Linked DNA regions of Homo sapiens: region 1 is linked to region 2. The links are contacts of gene promoters, found by promoter capture Hi-C in blood cells and fetal thymus (Javierre and others, 2016). All regions are on one chromosome and are shown on one strand. Each heading gives the region's core, a stretch centred on a gene start or on the middle of the fragment in contact. The rest is flanking DNA. Distances are from core to core; before and after follow the strand shown.

Region 1 (5,386 bases), core at 1,417-3,916, 160 kb after region 2:
GGGAAGGCACATCTGCAAAACAGGGCACATGTGGCCTTTTGTTCCTTCTGGGGAGAATGTGAATGCTGGACTCCTGGCTGCTGACTCCAGGCAAGGCCGGCTTCCCTTCTCTGTGAATTAACCATCCCCACACTCCTCTCCATTTCTTTTTTCACAGCTTTTCTTATATTCACCATCAGATTTTTCTTCTGTCCATGTCCATCCCATAGTCTAAGGCACCAATCTGTTACAACTTGAAAATGCAGCTTTGACAAACTAACATGCACTAAATTTGATCACCTGCTGTTTAAAAAGTATTATTTCTTAGTTATTTGTGCTAGTAGTTTTAAGCCCATTTAGGAGATGCTCACAACTCTGGTAAGATTCTCTGACAGGTATAGCTTTCCTTCTGTCATATTCAATTATACCCTCTTGTATTCATTTTTAACATCACTAGTCTTTTTTCTGAAAGCCATTGTCACTTGCACATCAGCCACCTGTCTGTCTCTAGGATACGCCATGTGGAATAGGGTAACCACACTGGACACGCTGTGAGGTGGCCTGCTTGGGAATCATTGAGATGAATCACTTCGTCAAGTCATTGTCTTTTTTTTTTTTTGAGACAGAGTCTTGTTCTGTCGCCCAGGCTGGAGTGCAGTGGTGTGATCTCGGCTCACTGCAACCTCCGCCTCCTGGGTTCAAGCAATTCACTTGTCTCAGCCTCTGGAGTAGCTGGGATTACAGGCGTGCACCACCACACCCAGAAAATTTTTGTATTTTTAGTAGAGACGGGGTTTCAATATGTTGGCCAGGCTGGTCTTGAACTCCTGACCTCAGGTGATCTGCCTGCTTCAGCCTCCCAAAGTGCTGGGATTACAGACTTGAGCCACCATGCCCAGCCTGAATCATTGTCTTAAACTTAGTGGTCACTTCTATGCTTCCTTGGCCACTCAGTTACTGGCTTTGCTCCCACTGCCCATGTGGGATGTGGGTTTGATTCTGGGCAGCCACTTGTAGGGGAGTGGAGGATGGGTGGAGTTGGCCTGCTAGAATCTTCTGTGACTGAGCCGGCAGTGACCATCATTCTCCACTCCTGTGATGAGTGTTCCCTTGATGAGAGTACTTAGGCAGGGATGGGGAGAGCTGCGAACACAGGTGGAGGTCCAGCTGGGTGTGTAGAAGGGGTATTCTGTTAGTCTATCTCGATAATTGTCCACAGCATCTTCTGGAAAACATGAAAAACATTCCATTATTATTAGCTGATGCCAAGCTTGTAGTAATTGTCTCCTGAGCTATTGCTTTTTAAACTGCTGCTTTCTTTGCTCTAGTGTATGCAGTTTTTGGATTTACCAGCGTGGTGAACCTCATCATAGGACTGGAGCAAGATGGAATCATTGACGGGTTCATGACACACTACTTGAGAGAGGTATGGGATCACTTAGTGATTATGAGGTTTCAACCAAAAGGCCACAACCCAGATCACATTACTCAGAGACAGAAATCCTCTCATTTAGTGTGAACAGGTACGCTACGCAGGCTTTCATTTCCTATAATAGCCTTAGGTCGCTTAGTCACATGGAAAGTGGAGCAGAAAGGACGGTTAGATCACGAGAGGCAATTCTCTCCAACATTCAGCTCTCACGGCTTCTCTCACTCATGACCGCACACATGACCTGCTTTTCCCCTTTATCTGTATTTAATATAAATAAGGTACCTTAAATGGATTTAGTATTTATGTGTCTGTTAATACATGACTATCTCAGAAACCCCAAGTCAGTCTTAAATTTGTAAAGTACCCAACACAGAGGCACTTGATGAAGTCATTTGATTGTGATGGCTTGCACTCTCCACCATGCTGCCCAAATCATAGCTTTGATACTACCTGGTACTCGAGAGAGCTAGTCCTATTTTCTTATTTTATGGTGGGCTGAACCCAGCCCCAGAGAGGTTAAGTGACTTATTCAAGGTGACACAGGAAATGAGGAAAAGGGCTCAAAGCAGATTCTTCATCCATGTTCAGATAATGGGGAGCTTTGTATGTACGCTGTGGGAGTTTGGGTTTTATCCTGTCTGTGAGGGAAGATTTTAAGTCAGTGAAGAATACAGGCAGCTCTGGGAAGGATGGGCTTGCAGGGAAGGGTCCGTGCCATGAGCTGGGGCACCAGTCAGGAGGCTTCCTCGGGACCAGCAGGGGCATAAACGTGGCTGGATGGAGGCAGCGCATGGGAAGTAGAGAGAGGGATGAACTTTAGAGAATCGGAGTGGCTGGAATGAATAAGACTTGGGGACAAATTGGGAGTGATGGGAAGGATGAGGCCTAAGACAGTGTCCTGATTCCTGCTTTGGAATTTGGAAGAATGCTGCTGTTTTTACACCAGAGAGGGATGACAGGAGGAATTTATTTCTGCAGACATTTGTTGAAGGGGACTCTGTGGTCAGAAGACCTGCTCCCTGCCCCCTGGGAGCTCCCTGCCTGAAAGGGTGGGGAGATGGAATTGTCCCAGGCACAGTGAGAGACTCACTCCAGGCACAGAAGTACTCAGAGGAGGAATTAAGTCTGGGTGCAGTCGGGGAAGGCTTATTGAGTTGGTGACACTGCTGTAGCATTTTAAAAATGGTCATGGCAGTGGAAGATGGACATTTCCAGATGGACCAGGGAGGTAGGGGGAATTCCGGAGAGAAGGGACAGCTTGGGCAAAGGCTTGGAGAGGAGAAAGAGCATGTGCCTCTCCCTGGGGCACCAATCTGCAAGGATGAGGCTGAGTTTCTATGGGGAGGTGGAGTTTCAGATGCTGGCAGGGCTTTGCAGGTCTTGAGCTCTGAGGAGCAGTCCTGGAAGAGAGAGTCACGGGCCATCGGAGTGCAGTTGGTACCTGAATGTCTGAGAGGAGAAGGGCTTGCCTATGAGAAGGTAGAGAGAGAAAAGGGCTGAGCTTGGGACTTTAGAGACCATGGCCAGAAGAAGAGAAGCCCCTGAAGTGGACCATGGGGGGCAGGCCAAGAGGCAGAAGGAAAACCTGGAGAGTGGGGGCCATGGAGCCCAGAGGAGGGAGGTTTTAGGAAGGAGGCGGCTGACGAGAGGGCTGGAGGCTGAGTTGGCAAGGGTGGTAAGCATTGGGGCAGACGGGGTATCAGAAGGGGGACTGGGGTGTAACTGTGGTGGCAAGGTCTGCAGGGCCAGGCTCTGGGGACCCAGCTGTGATAGAGAGGAGATGGGGCTTGGTCCAGCAGGCTGTGACAAGTTTTGGGGAGTTTTAGAGTAGAGGAACAACATGCCAAGAGCCAGGCCTTGAGAATCTTTATCTGGCAGGAGGAGTGTCATGGGTTGGAAGGAGGGGACAAAGGTAGGGAGACCATTTGGGAACATAGCTGTGGTCCAGTGAGGGACACTGAGGGCTAGACCTAATGCTGTGAAGAAGAGGGAGAATTGCCGGGGTGACATCGTAGCAATAAAGTTGATAGATTTGCTGAGAGACTGCATAGGAGAATGAGGAATGAAAAAATGACCATGTGGTTTTGACCTTGGTAAGCCGAATGGTTTCACCATTAATATAGAGAGGCCATGGCTGGCCTGGTGGCTCATGCCTGTAATCTCAGTGCTTTGGAAGACAAAGGCGGGAGGATCGCTTGACGCCAGGAGTTGAGACTGCAGTGAGCAATGATCACCACTGCACTCTAGACCGGGTGACAGAGTGAGACCCTGTCTCTGTACGTACACACACACACACACACACACACACACACACACATACAGAGAGAGCAAGAGAGAGAGAGGCAAGATGGAAGGCTGGTTGAGGGGAGAAGCTGATGAATTAAGAGTTCAGGCGAGTTGAAAGGACCTGTGGCCTGTGCACCATGCAGTTAAAGATGCTCATCAAGCTACCAGGAGAGGCCAGCACTGGCTCAGAGAGCCAGGTGTGTTAGCAATGGAAGTCTGAAACCATAAATCGGATGTATTCTTCAGTCAGAGCAAGTCCAAGAGAAGGGACGTGGGCCTGGCATGGGTGTAGAAGCAGAACCTTGATTCTGTTTCCTGCTTCTCTGATTTTAATTTGATTTGATCTGTGGGAGAGATGACAGAGCAGTCCTTGCCCCAGGGGAGCATGAAGCTTAAGAGAAAGCCCTGCTTGCTTGGCTGATTGATGGGCTGGTTGATCTGCACTCTTCCTTGTTGTAGAAAGGACTTAAGGCATCTTACAGCGTGAAACAAGCCAGGACAGCATGAACGTGGGAGAAAGAGGAAAGGAAAACAAGGTGGGGCCAAAACAACAGTAAAAATGCACGGAAAATTGATGACAGTGATTTTCTAGAAGCCACCTGGAAATGTAACCACCTAGAAAAGGGAAATGTAGTTCGTCATATAATCTTGTGTTCATAACATTAACATTTGCCCAGGAGAAGTATGGCTCTTCTTGGTCTCTGCTAGGTATACTAGCTACGTGACCTTAGGAAAGTCTTGTAATCTCAGAGCATCTGTTTCCTCATCTGTAAAATGGACTCAATCCTGTCCATCCCACTGGGTTGTTGGGAAGGTAGAAGGAGGGGTTGGGTGTGAAGCTCCGAGTTCGGTGCCTGCCTGCCTATGTGTCAGTATGTGGGGAATGAGTGTTGTGCCATGCCCAGCCCAGCAAGCCACGGGATCAGCATGAATTATTAAGGCCAGCCACTGGTTCTGGAAAGCAGGGTCATCCCTGGCCACCTCTCTGGTCACTGCCAAGCACCTTGTGTCAAAGATTTGGCTTGGTCTCCATGAGTTTGCCATACAGCCAGGATTGCCTATCATGCCATCTGCCTTCGCATCACAGTACAAACCTATGTTGATGCATCATGGGCCAATTGGCCAGGCATTCTCTAATTCCATCCTCTGTGGCCAGACCCTGGTTTTGGCAGCTCCAGCGTAAAGTTGTATTTTCATGTTCCTACCAATTTTGAAGAAATAGTTTCATCTTAGCAGATGAACACAAGTTAGTTCTGCTGTTTTATTTTACTTGCAATACAGGTCTGATGTTCTGCATTTACAGGTCTTATTTAAAGTGGACTTCTTTTTAATGCTTTCTTTAGGGTGAACCGTATCTGAACACCGCATATGGGCACATGATCTGCTACTGGGATGGCTCTGCTCATTATCTGATGTACCTGGTGATGGTGGCAGCCATAGCATGGGAGTAAGTCAGTTCACCTGGTGTGTGCCTTTGCCACCTTAGCAACCGATAAGCGGGTATGTAAGGAAACGTTATGCATAGAGGCAAATACACAAGCAGGTATACTGGACATGAATATAAGTTCCATGGGTGCACGTCAGACGTGGCTTTATCCTCCTTGTACCACTGCCTTTTGAATATGTCCTTCTGAATTGCTCCCTAGCATGGTGACAGCTCGGGCAGACCCTTTAAGCTTTCTGATTATG
Region 2 (4,934 bases), core at 1,621-4,120:
GCCACGCAGATACAGAACATTTCCAGCAGTGCAGAAAGTTCTGTTGGTCAGATGTATGCTCCTATACTGATGGAGAAGACCCCGGAGAGAAAGGTGGTTAGGAAGGAGAGACAATCTCTGAAAAGATGGGAGGAGGAAGGGATGGAATGGAGGCTACCCCAGAAGAAGGGGCCCCTAGTAGGAAGAGATGAGGGACAGGTCATCCAGCACAGCAGGCAGGTAGGAGAAGGTAGCAGCAGCTGCATACTAGACTAGGTGGTGGCAAAATGAAGACATTCCCTTGGTCAAAGGTGCCTATCTTGTCAATTGAAAGGGAAGCCACGGGGTGTGCCTAGGAAGGGGAGAGGTCTGGAAAGGGGAATAGGTATGAAATAGTTGCCTTAGGGAGTAAGAACACAAACTCACTGGAGAGGCCACACTTAACACAGAACACTTCGCAGAAGAGAAGTGGAAAATGGTAGTGAACATTTGAGGGAGGAGAAGCATCTCAAGTTGGGGGGAGGTAAACTCAGATAGTTTGTTTTTTTTTCCCTTAAATCCTAGTCCTGTCTACACAGCAGAGCCATGACGAAGCTGTAGGATCGCAGCAAGGTTTTCTACTAGCTGCCCTTTCAAAAAGTTCTTCCCCCTCCATCCTACACAACTCTCAGAAAGGATGACATTGGTTCTATTTTCAGTTAAAACGGCTCCCTCCACCCTCCTGTCTGAATTGCTTCCCCAGCCCTTAGCTGCATCTCAATTTACGACCATGGCTTGTATTTTCACATAAATAATAGAAGACATGGATCTATTAAAAATGGCAGAGGTAGGTAGGAGTTACAAACCAGCCTTTATCTACGAGAAGTGAGTAATATATACATTTATCGAATGATGTTAAAATTACATGAAAGACATATTCTGTGTTTAAACAAAATCCCCAAGCGTCTCCTCCCTGCTTCTCCACAAACAAAAATTATTTTTTGACATTTTCTTTAAGGTTTTATGAGTGAGTAAACATTTTCATTTCCACAGAACTATTTGATCTCAACCACAGAGTTTCAGTACTTGTTTTTGATCACACAAGTACGGTGGATTGGTTTTGTGTTGGCCAGGGGGAGGGAGGGCCAGAAAGAGAGTTAAAATTACCGGATCCCTTTTATCTTCCATTCTGAGACCTTACATTTGCCAACTCCTTTTTCCCTGTACATTTTTTTAAAGTATGAAATCTGAGAACCTCAAAGGCTCTCACTGCTCAAAGATCAGCCTTTTCACAGTCCACTGAGGACTCACTGGAAATGTTACAGAAATACGGCCTGCCAACTTGGGTGCCTCTGGGTAAAATCACCCACAGTTGCTGTTCATGTGAAATCTCCTAAATGTAAGCACACTTCTTCAGCCCTCGCTGCTCATCTCGCCTCCTCCTCTCTGTCACCCACCTCTGTCATGTCCAGTTCATGTTGGCCCACAGCCCTCACACTTCCATTCCTCAAAATTCCTCTTGGCCTGCCTCTGATCCCCTCACACACTCTGCAGCTCCCATGGCTAAGACTCACCAGGCAAAATGACTCCAGAAACTTAACCTGGAGTACGGTGCAAGAAAGCCACTGACCCAGGGGGGCTGAGCCAGGGCACCAGGACAATCTTGCTCCTTCCACTGCACTCTTGCCTTCCCAGGCCCCACCCATCCCAAACAGGAAAGCAAGATCTCTAGACCCTTGGAGCAGAAGCATTTGAGTCCTGCGAAGGGCTGTTGGAAGAATGCTGGGTTCAGCAGCAGGGAACAGAGAGATTTAGGAATTCTGGTTCACTTACCCGCCTCCATGCCCACGTCAGGCAGTGGCAAGGCCACCCCTGCTACACAAATGCTCATCAACTACACAGCCTGGGGGAAGTCACCGAACCACTTTGTGCCTCAGTTTCCTCATCTGTAAAGTGGACATAAGTGTCCCCTGAATACGTATGGCAAACCGTCAACGTGTGCCCAAATAGAGTGAGCAGATGTAAGGAGTTATTGTGCTATTAGCACAGTGGCTCCCAGACTCACAGAGCCTACTGCTCAGAGAGACGCCGAGGGGAAAGCTTAAATTACTTTATATACTCAGAAGCATTAGTCACTTCGACAGAGTATTTCAACTTCCCTCCTGAGCATCTACTCAGTTGTTTCAAAGACTGAAGCCTCACCTAGGTTCCTTATAGACTTCCATCATCTTCAGCATCTCAAAGCAGATCCAAAGTCCACTATTCCTACGCTGGAGGTTTATTATTATTTGATTATTTCCAGGAAAACTTCGATTTCCATTTTGCTTGTAATAAATCCAAACGTGGAGAACGACAAACTGCTTAGACTCACACAGGCCCTGGAGTTGACTGCGCCCAGGGGCGAAGAGACCGCGGAATGGCCGAGGCAGGAGGCCGGCCAGGGCACCGGTCCCCGTCAGGTGCCCCCGTGCCCGGGCTGTATGGGAGGGGAAGGGCCACGGGCTCCGCGCCCAGGCCAGGGTGCCCCTGCTGGGTGTCCGCGTGCCCCGGCGGAGGGCGCGGGTCAGGTGGCCCCAGACTCCCGGGCGCAGAGTGTGCGCTCGCTCCGGCTTGGGGAGGCGGGGGCCGGCCCGCCGGGAGGCTCCGAGCCCGGTTACGCCAGCCGCGGCCCCGCAGTCCCTCCGGAGGGGCGCGCGGAGAGCGCGCGGCGCGGGCTCACTCACCCCATCTCCGGCGCTGCTCCGGCGGCCGCTCCGACGGGGCCTCTCGCGCTCGCTCTCCGCCCGCTCGGCAGCCGCTCCCCGCGCGGCACATGCGGCGGCCCGTGCGCGCCCGGCTCAGCCCCGGCGCCGCTCCATTCCGCGGGGCTGCGCGGCTGCCACTGCTGCCACTGCCGCCACCGCCGCCAGGCGCGGGCGGGCGGGGGCTGGGCGGCCGCGCTGGGGCGGTGCCCGCCCCGCCCTCCCCAGCCGCTACCCCCGCCCGGCTCCTTACGTAACCTCGTGGCCCCCGGGCCGCGGCAGCGAGCCAAGAGGCGGGGGGCGCAGCACTGTGTGCACCGTCCCCCGCGCAGCCGCGCAGTCGCCGCTTTTCTCCCGGGCCACCCAGTCCTCGGTGCCGGCCCCGCGTTGGCGCGCCCCCGCCCCACGCCGACCCGGGGCCCTGGCGCAGTGCCATCAACATCCTGCCTGATGGACTTAAAGTCCCATTCACACCTGGCGGGGACTTTAGGGCTACCTTTACTTTGCAGATAAGGGAACCGAGGCCTGGGGAGGGTAAGTGATTTGCCCAAGGTCACACATTCAGATTAGAGTTCGTTCGGGTCTCCAGAGTCTGAGATGGGCATAGCTGTGCTCCTCCTTAAAGCCCACCTTCATCTTCCTGCCAGTTGCCCGGCCGAGTGGCCTTAAGGTACCCGCCACCGTGAAATTTCGGAAGCCAGCCTGGCAGAGAAGAGCCTACAGGCCGCGGCAGATGCTCTGGGCTCTTTCCTGGATAAAAATGAGATGAGGGCTCCCACTTGAAGGGGCAGTTTTAAGGCGGCTTCATCAAGCTTGGTTTTATCCTTAGAGCGAGGGGAATTAGGATGGCAAAAGTAGAACTTGAAGAAGAGCAGGCTCTCTTCGTCGCCTTTCTACCTATCAGGTCCTGAGTTTCTACCAAAGGCTGGCACTGGGACTAACCTAACCTTCATCCCCCGGGACTTCCACGGGATCATCTTCTGCTGGGAACACACCGCCCACATAAGCCTGGCATCTCAGGACAGTAAAAAAGTCAAGGGACAGGTCGGGCGCGGTGGCTCACGCCTGTAATCCCAGCACTTTGGGAGGCCGAGGCGGGCGAATCACGAGGTCTGGAGATCGAGGCCATCCTGGCTAACACGGTGAAACCCCGTCTCTACTAAAAATACACACACACAAAAAAAATTAGCCGGGCGTGGAGACAGGCGCCTGTAGTCCCAGCTACTCCGGAGGCTGACGCACAAGAATCGCGTGAACCTGGAAGGCGGATCTTGTAGTGAGCCGAGATCGCACCACTGCACTCCAGCCTGGGCAACAGAGCGAGACTCCGTCTCAAAAAATAAATAAATTAATTAATTAAATACATAAATAGCCGGGTGTGGTGGCGTGCTCCTGTAGTCCCAGCTACTCCCAGCTACTCGGGAGGCTTGATGCAGGAGAATCGCTTGAACCCAGGAGGCAGGGGTTGCAGCGAGCCGAGATCATGCCACTGCACTCTAGCCTGGTGAAAAGAGCCAGACTGTCTCAAAAAAATAAATAAATAAATACAAAATAAGTTTGTAAAAAATAAAATAATCTTGGGAGTTTCCAAATCCTCCATGCATAGTAATCAGCAATATCAGGAAAGTGAGCTTGTAGAACACTGAACAAGTCATTTATCAGGTAATACCTGAGGATTCTGAAGTGTTCGAATAACTTCAAAGGCAAGCCACTGAAATCAGAGTTTTTCATTTTTATTTTATTTTTATTATTTTTTTTTTGAGACGGAGTCTCACTCTGCTCACCCAGGCTAGAGTGCAGTGGCAGTGGCGTGATCTCGGCTCACTGCAACCCCCACCTCCCAGATTCAAGCGATTCTACTGCCTCAGCCTCCCCAGTAGCTGCGACTGCAGGCGCATGCCACCACGCCCAGTTTTTTTTTTTTTTTGTATTTTTAGTAGAGACAGGGTTTCACCATGTTTCGATCTCCTGACCTCGTGATCCACCCGCCTCGGCCTCCCAAAGGGCTGGGACTACAGGCATGAGCCACCGTGCCTGGCCGAGTTTTTCATTTTTTTAAACTACAATCCACAGTAAGAAATATATTTTACACTACAACCTGCAACCTGGTACATACTTCAGCACATACATACTATGTCTATAGGTATATCGATATAAAATAGAAACAAAAAGTTATATAAAACAATGTTTATCCTCTCACTTGCCAGGCAGGCATTCAGACATCATTCTGTTTTG

What was found. The method cuts DNA at HindIII sites, captures the fragments that hold promoters and counts their contacts. A CHiCAGO score of 5 or more calls a contact.
Region 1: a contact is called between a fragment that was not itself captured here and the fragment with the promoter of HOMER2 in region 2, in 1 of 17 cell types (neutrophils). The highest score is 5.5, in neutrophils.

Annotation. Positions count from the first base shown.
Region 1 is chr15:83,114,538-83,119,923 of GRCh38, forward strand. TM6SF1 (transmembrane 6 superfamily member 1) reads left to right here. Exons shown (of 10, transcript NM_023003.5): 3 at 1,308-1,405; 4 at 5,041-5,144. It also overlaps a transcript of HDGFL3 not described here. Among named protein-coding and RNA genes, the nearest start is that of TM6SF1, 9.6 kb to the left of the region's middle. The HindIII fragment of the contact is 2,839 bases long and covers 1,248-4,086 here.
Region 2 is chr15:82,949,850-82,954,783 of GRCh38, forward strand. It overlaps HOMER2 (homer scaffold protein 2), which reads right to left and starts at 2,871. Exons shown (of 9, transcript NM_004839.4): 1 at 2,682-2,871. The coding sequence starts at 2,686. RefSeq lists an enhancer at 2,121-2,621. The HindIII fragment of the contact is 1,453 bases long and covers 2,057-3,509 here.